Linked DNA regions of Homo sapiens: all the other regions are linked to region 3. Evidence: promoter capture Hi-C in 16 types of primary human blood cells and fetal thymus (Javierre and others, 2016). All regions are on one chromosome and are shown on one strand. Each heading gives the region's core, a stretch centred on a gene start or on the middle of the fragment in contact. The rest is flanking DNA. Distances are from core to core; before and after follow the strand shown. Region 1 holds the start of TACR2 (tachykinin receptor 2). Region 2 overlaps HK1 (hexokinase 1). Region 3 holds the start of VPS26A (VPS26 retromer complex component A).

Region 1 (2,792 bases), core at 129-2,628, 290 kb after region 3:
TTCCCCTCGTGTAATCTATCCGGAATAATAAAAAAAAAACTGTATAAGACATATCTTTGGAGTGAAATAAAGACAACAAAACAAAGATCAACTCCAGGAAAGAACACTTCAGAAGGTCGCTAAAACATTGCCCACTTCCCCTACAGACTTGAACAACCTGTCTAGTGCATCTAGTGCAAAGTCCTTCTCTGTGTCTAACCCTCAGTCTACCTTCTTCAGCTCCACAGTCCCCCTGCCTTCCAGATTCATAGTTTTGGACCATGACCAGATTTGGGAAGCCATTCCCATGGTTCTACCCAAACTTGCTGTGTAATCACAGGCATGTCACCACCCTTATCTGAGCCCCGGCTCAGTGGGGAGGCTCCCCCCAGCTTCCCCAAGGACCCTCTTGCCTGTCGGCAGCAATGGCGGTCATGGAGTAGATGCTGACAAACATGGCTGTGATGGGGAAGAGGTTCTGGAAGTAGCAGAAGGCACGGCCAAAGTACCAGATGTTGTGGCTGGCATAGACAAAGTTGAAGGCGGCATTGAAGGCAGCCATGCAGAGGTCAGCCAGCGCCAGATTGACGATGAAGTAGTTGGTGACTGTGCGCATCCTCCGATGGGCCAGGATGATCCAGATGACGATGGCATTACCCGTCACGGCCACCAGCACCAGGGCCAGGTAGGCTGTGGCCCACAGTGCCAGTTGCCAGCTGGGCATGGAGAAGGCTGTGATGCCCGTGGTGTTGCTCTCAGGGCCAGATGAGATATTGGCTTCAGTCACAATGTCACAGGTCCCCATGGCTGCTTCTGGGTCTGGAACAAAGGACCTGGCTCCTCGGCTCCTCTCGGATTTGCTATGAAAGAGAACTCCCCTTCAGAGCATGGGAATATGGGGGCAGGGAGAGGAGCAGATGCCAAGCGTGGTGGCACATCAGGAGAGCCTGGGGCCACTCCTAGGTCTCAGGCAAAGATGAGCTGGGCTGAGCACAAAGCCCAGTCCAGAACCATTGTCATTTCAGATTCCATCCTTCCGGCCAGACTTCTCGAATATCATGTGGAAACACAGAATTCAAATCACAGTGTCAGAGCAGAAAACACCCTTATAAATCAACCCCTTCGCTGAAGAGATGGAAGACAGAGATTCCAAGAGGGGACGGGACCAGCCCAGGTCACTCAGGAAGTTGGTGACAAGTTAGGACTCGAACCCAGGTTTCTCGTCACGTAATTCAGGAAACCTTCCAGATCAGAGGAATGCACAGCGGGAGTCTCTGGAGTCCACAGGTCAATGGCGCAGCAGCCTCTCTCCAGGCTTTGGGCTGCAAGCCGGGCTGGGTGCTGGGTGCTCAGGGCTCTGCCAGCTGCCAGCCCTCGCTGCAGCTTCCCTGCCGTTCTCTGGGGCAGGGCCAGTGGGGGCCTTGGCAGAGGTGCTGCCTGCTCACGAGGGGGGGCTTTGGCTCCCGCCCCTGGTCCCACCCCCTGCTTGGCCTTGTCTCTTGAAAGATTTAGGACTGGCTGCAGAGGCAGGGAGAGACTTGGGGGAGATGGGGCTGGTACAGAGGGCCCAGCTCTCGGCGGATGTTGACTTTCAGCCCAGGACAGGAGCTACGTCTGAAGAGTGATTCTGAATACAGAAGGAGTTCGAGCCTGGTTTGGTGACTCCAGGCAAGTCTCTTAACCTTTCTGAGCTCTGTCTACCCCATCTGAAAAATATAGAAAAATGGTGTGCATCTTACAGTACATTTGTGAATTTTAAATGGAGATAATGTGCACAAAGTCTACTTAGCACAGGGGTTGGTACATAAAAACTATGATTGGAGTTTCTGGCCCGAAGGGAGGACCCCACAGCTCTGGGCGCTCTAGGAGGAGAAGCCAGAACCCGGAGCGTTTCCAGCGAGTTCCCAGGTGATACTGATGCTGCTGGAGCCAGCACTTCACTTTGAGAACCACTGTCTTAGGACAAAGTCAGGGCTCTTCCGGGAACCACAGCAAAGCTGGAGTTTTAACTCCTGAGAAGCTGCTCTAGGTTTGCCCCAAGATCCCTGCTCCTGGTCATTGACTGTGTGCACGTGTGTGAAGCAGTGAAGATGTTTCTGAGCAACTGTATGTGCGGCTGACGTGTTAAGCTCACACACACGCATGAACCTGTGCACACCTGTGGTGTGTGGACCATGAAGGCAGGGCAGGATTAGCGGGAGTCGGGGGGGCATGTTCTTCATTAAAGCAGAGGAGGCTTCTCATTCACCAGCAACCCACGGCACAGCAGCCTCTGTGCTCCCAGGGCTCTGCCTTGCACCGCCTGGGTTTCTCGTGGCTGGGCCTCGGCCCCCACACTCCCAGTCCATTTTCTGCTTCTCCCTGTGTGTCACTTTCCTGACACCCAGCCCTTGTCTCCCGGGGTGAGCTGAGAAAGACCTTTAAAGGTCTCTAGTGCTGAAAAGATTATGCCACCCATGGAATCCAATATAAAAACAACACTAAACCATAAGTCATGAAACTTAAACATGCTGAAATTGAAAGAGCTTCTTTATGGATTTTTCTGATTATGAACTTCTGGGTAAGTTCATCGACAATCAACACTGAAATTGTATCTATTGTTTGGTCTCCCTGCTGTGCAGATGTGAGGAGCATGTGCTGGGTCGAATGGGAACCCCATCCTTGCCCTTGGGGAGGGAGTGCTTCCTGGGCCCCTACTCCTCCCGTGGGTGTGTGCCTGTGTGCCTGTTTCCTCTCTGGAGTGGCCTGTTTGGACTTTGGACCCTAGCAGAAGGGTCTCTGCCTTTGATCTCTGTTGGTGGCGGCAACAGTAG
Region 2 (3,027 bases), core at 1-2,500, 270 kb after region 3:
AAACACATTAGGGGTCTGGGCCTCGAGCACATAATTCCTGAAGCATATTGATTTGGGCTATGAGGAAACCATTTGTCCTGCTGGCCCTGCTCCTCGCGTCAGGGGATGCTGGGAAAGACCCCAGGGAGTTTCTTAGCCAACATCTGCGGACTCTGCCTGGTGAGTGAGCAGTGGCACCCCTGCTACTGGATCAGTTGCTGAGTGTCTAGAGCTTGGGAAGAGGCCCCAGCAGGCTGCCTTCCAGGTGCCAGGAAGAACTTTTCATTCATTGTTAAGCCACTTTTCGCTTCTGTTGAAATTTTAAAAAACCTAGGGAGCAGCTGCTGGTGAAAAGGTTGTTTGGGGCCTGGCTTTCTCCACCCAGCCCCTCCCTTTCTTTCCATGAATGGGCTTGGGTATGAAATGCAAAGCTAGAGTGACACAGCAGCTCTCCTCCTCCTGCAGGCCCCACCTTCCCTCCTGGGAGGTCAGGCCCGCCCGTTTCCTGGCACCAGGCTCCAGCTACATTTCATAGCTACTTCATAGCTACTTTTTCTTTCCTCCATCAATTGATCTCTTTGCTCAGGACTCCCATAGGCAAGATGTATGGTTTCCATGTTTTGGCTTTCTTTGCATCTCCCACTCCCATCATCTTCCGTTTCTGGAGCTCCTCTTCTCTCAGTTTTAACCTTGGGTGAAAAGGGGGCTGAGAAAACAAAGAACAAAAATCATCCAACTGTACAGTCTTTGAACTCTACTTAAGTTTCTTCAAAGGGGATGAAAACTACCAAAGCCCTTTTGGTCTGGCCAGGGGGTGTGTCTTGTGCCCTCCCGATGAAAGTTCACCTACATCCCACCCTGGATGGGTGGATGGTGCTCCTGGGCGCATCATTAGCATCATCCTGGGAGCTTGTTAGAGATGCAGGCTCTCAGGTCCTGGCCCTAGCCTCTTGAATCTGGATCTGCTTCTTAGGGTCCCCAGGTGATCCAGGTGCATATTAAAGTATGTGTGTGAAGCACTCTTCCTGGGTTAGTTGATTGGTTTTTAAATGTCCAGTCTATTCAGTGAGGCAAGTTCAGTGACCACAAGCTTGGATATCATGGCAATTAAAATTGCTGTGAAAGTTGCAGGATGCTTGCCTTCAGTTTCTTAGCTCCTCATGGGCTGGAACAGCAAACAGTCGGTGGTCCTTCTATTTTGAGTGACTCTGCTCTAGGGAGTTCAGGAATGGAAGTCAGAGATTCCTGAGCCCCTGGCAAGCATATGTCAGGTTGCATGTGTGCGGTGTGTGGGTCCACCCAGAGAAAGGTGCCTTTTTCACAGAAGAATCCTCTGATCTTCAAAGGTCTGATACAAAAATGATGAAAAACCATTGCTTTTGAAAGCCCCCCTTGAAATGCTGAAGACACTGTCCTGCCCTGAACTGTGGGCTTCATCCCAAGGTATGTAGGAAAGCTTATTGAGCAGGCATAGTCCACGACCAACCATCCTTGTCGAGAAAAGATAAGTGGGGCTGGGCGTGGTGCCCACGCCTGTAATCCCAGCACTTTGTGAGGCTGAGGCGAGAGGGTAGCTCGAGCCCAGGAATTTGAGATGAACCTAGGCAACATGGCAAAACCCTATCTCTACTAAAAATTTTAAAAAATTAGCCAGGCATGATGGTGGTGCCTGTAGTCCAGCCACTTGGAAGGCTGAGGTGGGAAAATCACTTGAGCCCTGGAGGCGGAGGTTGCAGTGAGCCAAGATTGCGCCGCTGCACTCCAGCCTGGGTGACAGAGCCAGACCCTGTCTTGAAGAAAAGAAAAAGAAAATAAGTGAATATCTATGGTATGATAGAAGATAATCCCCTAATATTTTATACACATATATATAGGCATGTATATATTGTATATTCATGTGTGCATGATGTTGTGTGTGTACGTATATATTTCTTCTTCTGGTCTGAATGTTGCCTAAACCTCTACCATTGATGCTCCATCTCTTTGCTATAAAGCCATCTTCTATTAAAATAAACATAACCCTGCCTGGACGGGTGAACACATTGGCTCTTGGTTGAAAGTCAGCTAAGCAGGTGCCCTCTGGGTGATGTGGCTCAGACTCTCCATTTACATTTCAAATTTTTCCATTTCAAAATTGGGAAAGAAAAACTATTACTTTGTTCATCACAAAAAACGTGCCCCCTGCCTGTGGAACCTCAGGCCCCAGACCCCAGGCCCAGTTGCAAGACCCCCAAATGCAAGGCCACCGCTCCTCATTGCCCCCTCGTGTGTTCCAGGGACCGGCAGCAATGCCTGCTACATGGAGGAGATGAAGAACGTGGAGATGGTGGAGGGGGACCAGGGGCAGATGTGCATCAACATGGAGTGGGGGGCCTTTGGGGACAACGGGTGTCTGGATGATATCAGGACACACTACGACAGACTGGTGGACGAATATTCCCTAAATGCTGGGAAACAAAGGTAACCCCGCCTGGTGGAGAGGACACTCACAGTCAGGGTGGGGGCAGCACTTGGCTGCATTCTGCCACTTGCAGTGGAAGAAGTTTCTAGGAGGAGAGGTCTGAACAGAGGTTTCAAGACTGGACCCCCTGGCTCACTCCTGACCTTTGTCTTTTGGACAGCAGAGAACCAGGGAGGACAGACCCCCAACATGGTACAAGATGGCCCAGGGTTGATGCCTGTCTAGGGGCTGCCTGTGACTGTTTTTTAGCCTGGAGGATTCTGGCCTTCCGGTCCCCTTGCTGTGTTCCTTTCCCATCAGAATAACAAGGGGGTGGGGTGAGGGTGGCTGGGCGGCAGGTTGGTGTGAAGCAGAGGCCCTGTCGCAATCGTCCTTTCCTCCGTGAGCCTCCTGCACCACCTAGTGGCCTTGTGGAGCTTTGCAGCTCAGGTCTCAGGTACCATGTCTGAAATGGCAGTGTCTGCCCTTTGTCTCAAGCCCCCAGGAATCAGGCCATCCTCTGCCACGGCCAGGATGAGTTGGTCCAAGTTGTCTCCCTAGGAGCAGAAAGAAGGGCTGGAGCAGCACCCAGCATGAGTCACTCCCTA
Region 3 (3,142 bases), core at 514-3,013:
TTTTTGCTGCTTTCTTTTCACAGTTCAAACAGACAACAATATCAGTGTTACTATAGTTATTTATTTTTTTTGAGATGGAGTCTCGCTCTGTCACCAGGCTGGAGTGCAGTGGCGCAATCTTGGCTCACTGCAATCTCTGCCTCCTAGGTTTAAGTGATCCTCCTGCCTCAGCCTACCGAGTAGCTAGGATTACAGACGTGCACCACCATGCCCCGCTGATTTTTGTATTTTTAGTAGAGACGGGGTTTCGCCATGTTGGCCAGGCTGGTCTCAAACTTCTGACCTCAAGTGATCCGTCCGCCTCGGCCTCTCAAAGTGCTGGAATTATAGACTGTGAGCCACCATGCCTGGCCCAAATATGTGCATTTAAAGCTACAAATTTTCCTTTTACACAGTGTCACTGCATTCCACAAATTTGATATGTTGTATTATTATCTTTTATTTCAAATTATTTTATTTTTATTATTTTTTATTTTTGAGACAGAGTCTTGCTCTGTCGCCCAGGCTGGAGTGCAGTGGCTCCATCTCGGGCACTGCAACCTCCGCTTCCCGGATTCAAGAGATACTCGTGTCTGACCTCAGGTGATCCACCTGCCTTGGCCTCCCAAAGTGTTGGGATTACAAGTGTGAGCCTCCGTGCCCGGCCTCAACTTATTTTTAAATTTCCATTGATCTCTTCTTTGACCTAGAGATTTGGAATTATGTTGCTTAATTTCCAATATTTCCGGAATTTTCTGGCTTGTTTGGGTTGATTTCTAATTTTAATTCTATTGCGGTTAGAGATGATACTCTGATTTCAATCCTCTTAAATTTGAGGCTCACACTGAGGATTAAGTATAAAAAAATTTTTTTTGATACCTGTTTCATGGACTCGCCTCACAAACTTCTGTTTTAAGGTGGGGTAATTATAGTGCGTTCAGGGATGGATTTTTCTTCTGCTTTGGTTATGCATAGAGTGCACTGTGGCCCTTCAACACTATACTCTGAAATCCCACACAGTATTTTCCTCATCTGGAGGTCCTATAGGCTTACACTAGGGAGGAGGATCCAGTTCAGGCCAGCGTAGTCTTCAGCTGCGCCGTGGGACTTTCGGGGGAGCGCCTTTGCCCTCTCAGAACGGCTGGGCGGAACGGTGGGTTTGTGAGCCCTCCAGGCTCAGGGTGGGTCGCTCAGGGGCCATCTGGGGACTTTGGGAAGCAATGAAAGTTGTACCCTAGGATTTTTTTCTACTGGTCTTCTCTTCAGAGGCGAGAAAGCCAAGTTAAGAAAACCCAGACTCAGAAGGAGGTGGAGCGGGACTGCGTTCAGGCAAGGTGGCAGAACGCCTCGCCGTGGACGAAGAGAGCACATCTCTTCTTGCGAGGCCTAAGGAAGTAGGGCTCCCACTCGCCTCGGCAACCCAAGGACCCAGCCAAGGAGAGAGCCTCCAGATGAATCCTTCCTCTCCTCCTTCCTTCCCAGCCGCTCAAACTTTCACAAAGAGGAACTGGGTGCGGTAAAGAGGCCGGACACGGAACCGCTCGTCCGGTGACCGAAGAGACGGCGAGGAGGAGCCCGCGAACCCGCCTCTGTTCAGGCCCCGCCCACTCGACGTAATTTGCCCGCCCCTCTCCACCCTCCGAAGGGTGGAGCCTGAGGCCCCGCCTCCAAGCGGCCTCTCCCCGGAGTGCCTGGCGGCCAGCAGGGCGGGGCAGGAGGCTGGGAGAGGGACGGGTGCGGGGGTGGGGGAGAGGAAGGGAGCGGTCACGTGTGAGGGGCGGCCCGAGGTCACGTGACGGAGCGCCGGAGCGGAGGGAGCCGGGGCTGGGAGTTCTCCTGAGGGAAGAGGAGTGGAGTAGGGGGGACGCGGCGGCGGCGTTGACAATGGTGAGTGCGCGGCGGCCAGCGCGCTCGCCTCCCGCCCTCGTCCCGGAGCGCGCGGCGGGCCGGCCAACCGCGGGCCGGGCGTCGCCGGAGGAGGGGACGGGGGAGCAGGGCGGGGAGCGGGGTTAGGCCTGTCGGGCCACCCCTGGGTCTGGGAAAAGCTGGCGGCGCCACCTCTTCCCGGTCTCGGCGAGGCCCGAGCACCTACGGGCGGCGGCGTGCTCTCCTGGCCATGTCGGAGCCTCTGCCCGCGTTCTTCGACTGCTTGTTGGGGCTCTGGCTGGGGACTCGGACCCCGCCTCTGCGGGGGCTGGTCGCCGCCTCCCCTTCCTAGGTAGCCAGTCCCTGTTCTCCTCCCGGGCAGCCTCTCTTCCATCCAGGTGGGGCGACCCGGGAGCCCCCCACCTCCGGACTCTTCGGGGGACTTGGGCACTCAGTGTGTCACGAACTTGATAAACTCTGATATTTTAAAACCTGACTATGGTGACATTCTTTGATTTCATGACCCCAGTTCAGGCTTTCTGTTGACACTTGTAAAATGGGAGAGAAAAATAAAAGGACGTTGGAATGGGGGATATCTTTAACTCCAGAGACACCCGTTTGGTGCCCGCCGTTTTAAGCATTGGCTCTCATTTCCGTCCGCAAGCTATTTCGCTGAACTTAACGCTCTGGGTTGTTGAAACGGCCTATGAGGCAGAGGAGGGAGGGGAATCAGTGCTCTCACCACAGTCCGCGGAAGCACTAGCCTGGGCATTGTGGTATTTAGCTGGGTGTCGGCAGTCTCTAGGTTAGATCTCATTTTACCCATTTTCTGGTAGTAGTCGTCAGTTCTCTTCATTTAGCGCCTACTGTATGCTCTCCTAATACTACCTGCTCTTCCCAAAGCTCACTGATTCAATAGACTGCTTGAGACTTTTGGCTTAAAAGGCCGAGCCAGGTATATTTTTAAAAAGCTACTTTGAATAAATAACTTTTAATTTCAGTAATGATGTTGCTTTCAAAACAAAACAAAACAAAATCCAGACATTCATGTTCATTCTTAGAGCTTTTTTTCTTTCATTCAACAAATAATTGCTCAGGTGTGCCTAGGGGACCCCAGTAAAATGGAAACAGCGCCTACCTGCTCTCGTAGCTTACAATGTAGGGAGAGATAAACATTTATTTGTGTAAATTATTTGTTTAACGTGGAAATTAGAATTGTGACAGATACTAAGAAGGAAGTATTGGGGGACCTTGCCTAGTCAGTGTTAGGGCAGGCTTCTTTAATTGAATATCATTT

Evidence for each region. The method cuts DNA at HindIII sites, captures the fragments that hold promoters and counts their contacts. A CHiCAGO score of 5 or more calls a contact.
Region 1: a contact is called between the fragment with the promoter of TACR2 here and the fragment with the promoter of VPS26A in region 3, in 10 of 17 cell types (fetal thymus, M2 macrophages, total B cells and 7 more). The highest score is 12.3, in fetal thymus.
Region 2: a contact is called between a fragment that was not itself captured here and the fragment with the promoter of VPS26A in region 3, in 6 of 17 cell types (fetal thymus, total CD8 T cells, erythroblasts and 3 more). The highest score is 7.0, in fetal thymus.

The regions. Positions count from the first base shown.
Region 1 is chr10:69,415,540-69,418,331 of GRCh38, forward strand. It overlaps TACR2 (tachykinin receptor 2), which reads right to left and starts at 1,379. Exons shown (of 5, transcript NM_001057.3): 1 at 393-1,379. The coding sequence starts at 784. RefSeq lists enhancers at 1,149-1,883, 2,634-2,792. The HindIII fragment of the contact is 12,893 bases long and covers 1-2,792 here.
Region 2 is chr10:69,389,870-69,392,896 of GRCh38, forward strand. It overlaps HK1 (hexokinase 1), which reads left to right. Exons shown (of 18, transcript NM_000188.3): 15 at 2,256-2,439. Among named protein-coding and RNA genes, the nearest start is that of TACR2, 26 kb to the right of the region's middle. RefSeq lists enhancers at 26-748, 820-1,531. The HindIII fragment of the contact is 366 bases long and covers 1,068-1,433 here.
Region 3 is chr10:69,122,415-69,125,556 of GRCh38, forward strand. VPS26A (VPS26 retromer complex component A) reads left to right here and starts at 1,764. Exons shown (of 9, transcript NM_004896.5): 1 at 1,764-1,866. The coding sequence starts at 1,864. RefSeq lists enhancers at 998-1,357, 2,222-2,728 and a silencer at 1,618-2,017. The HindIII fragment of the contact is 9,705 bases long and covers 1-3,142 here.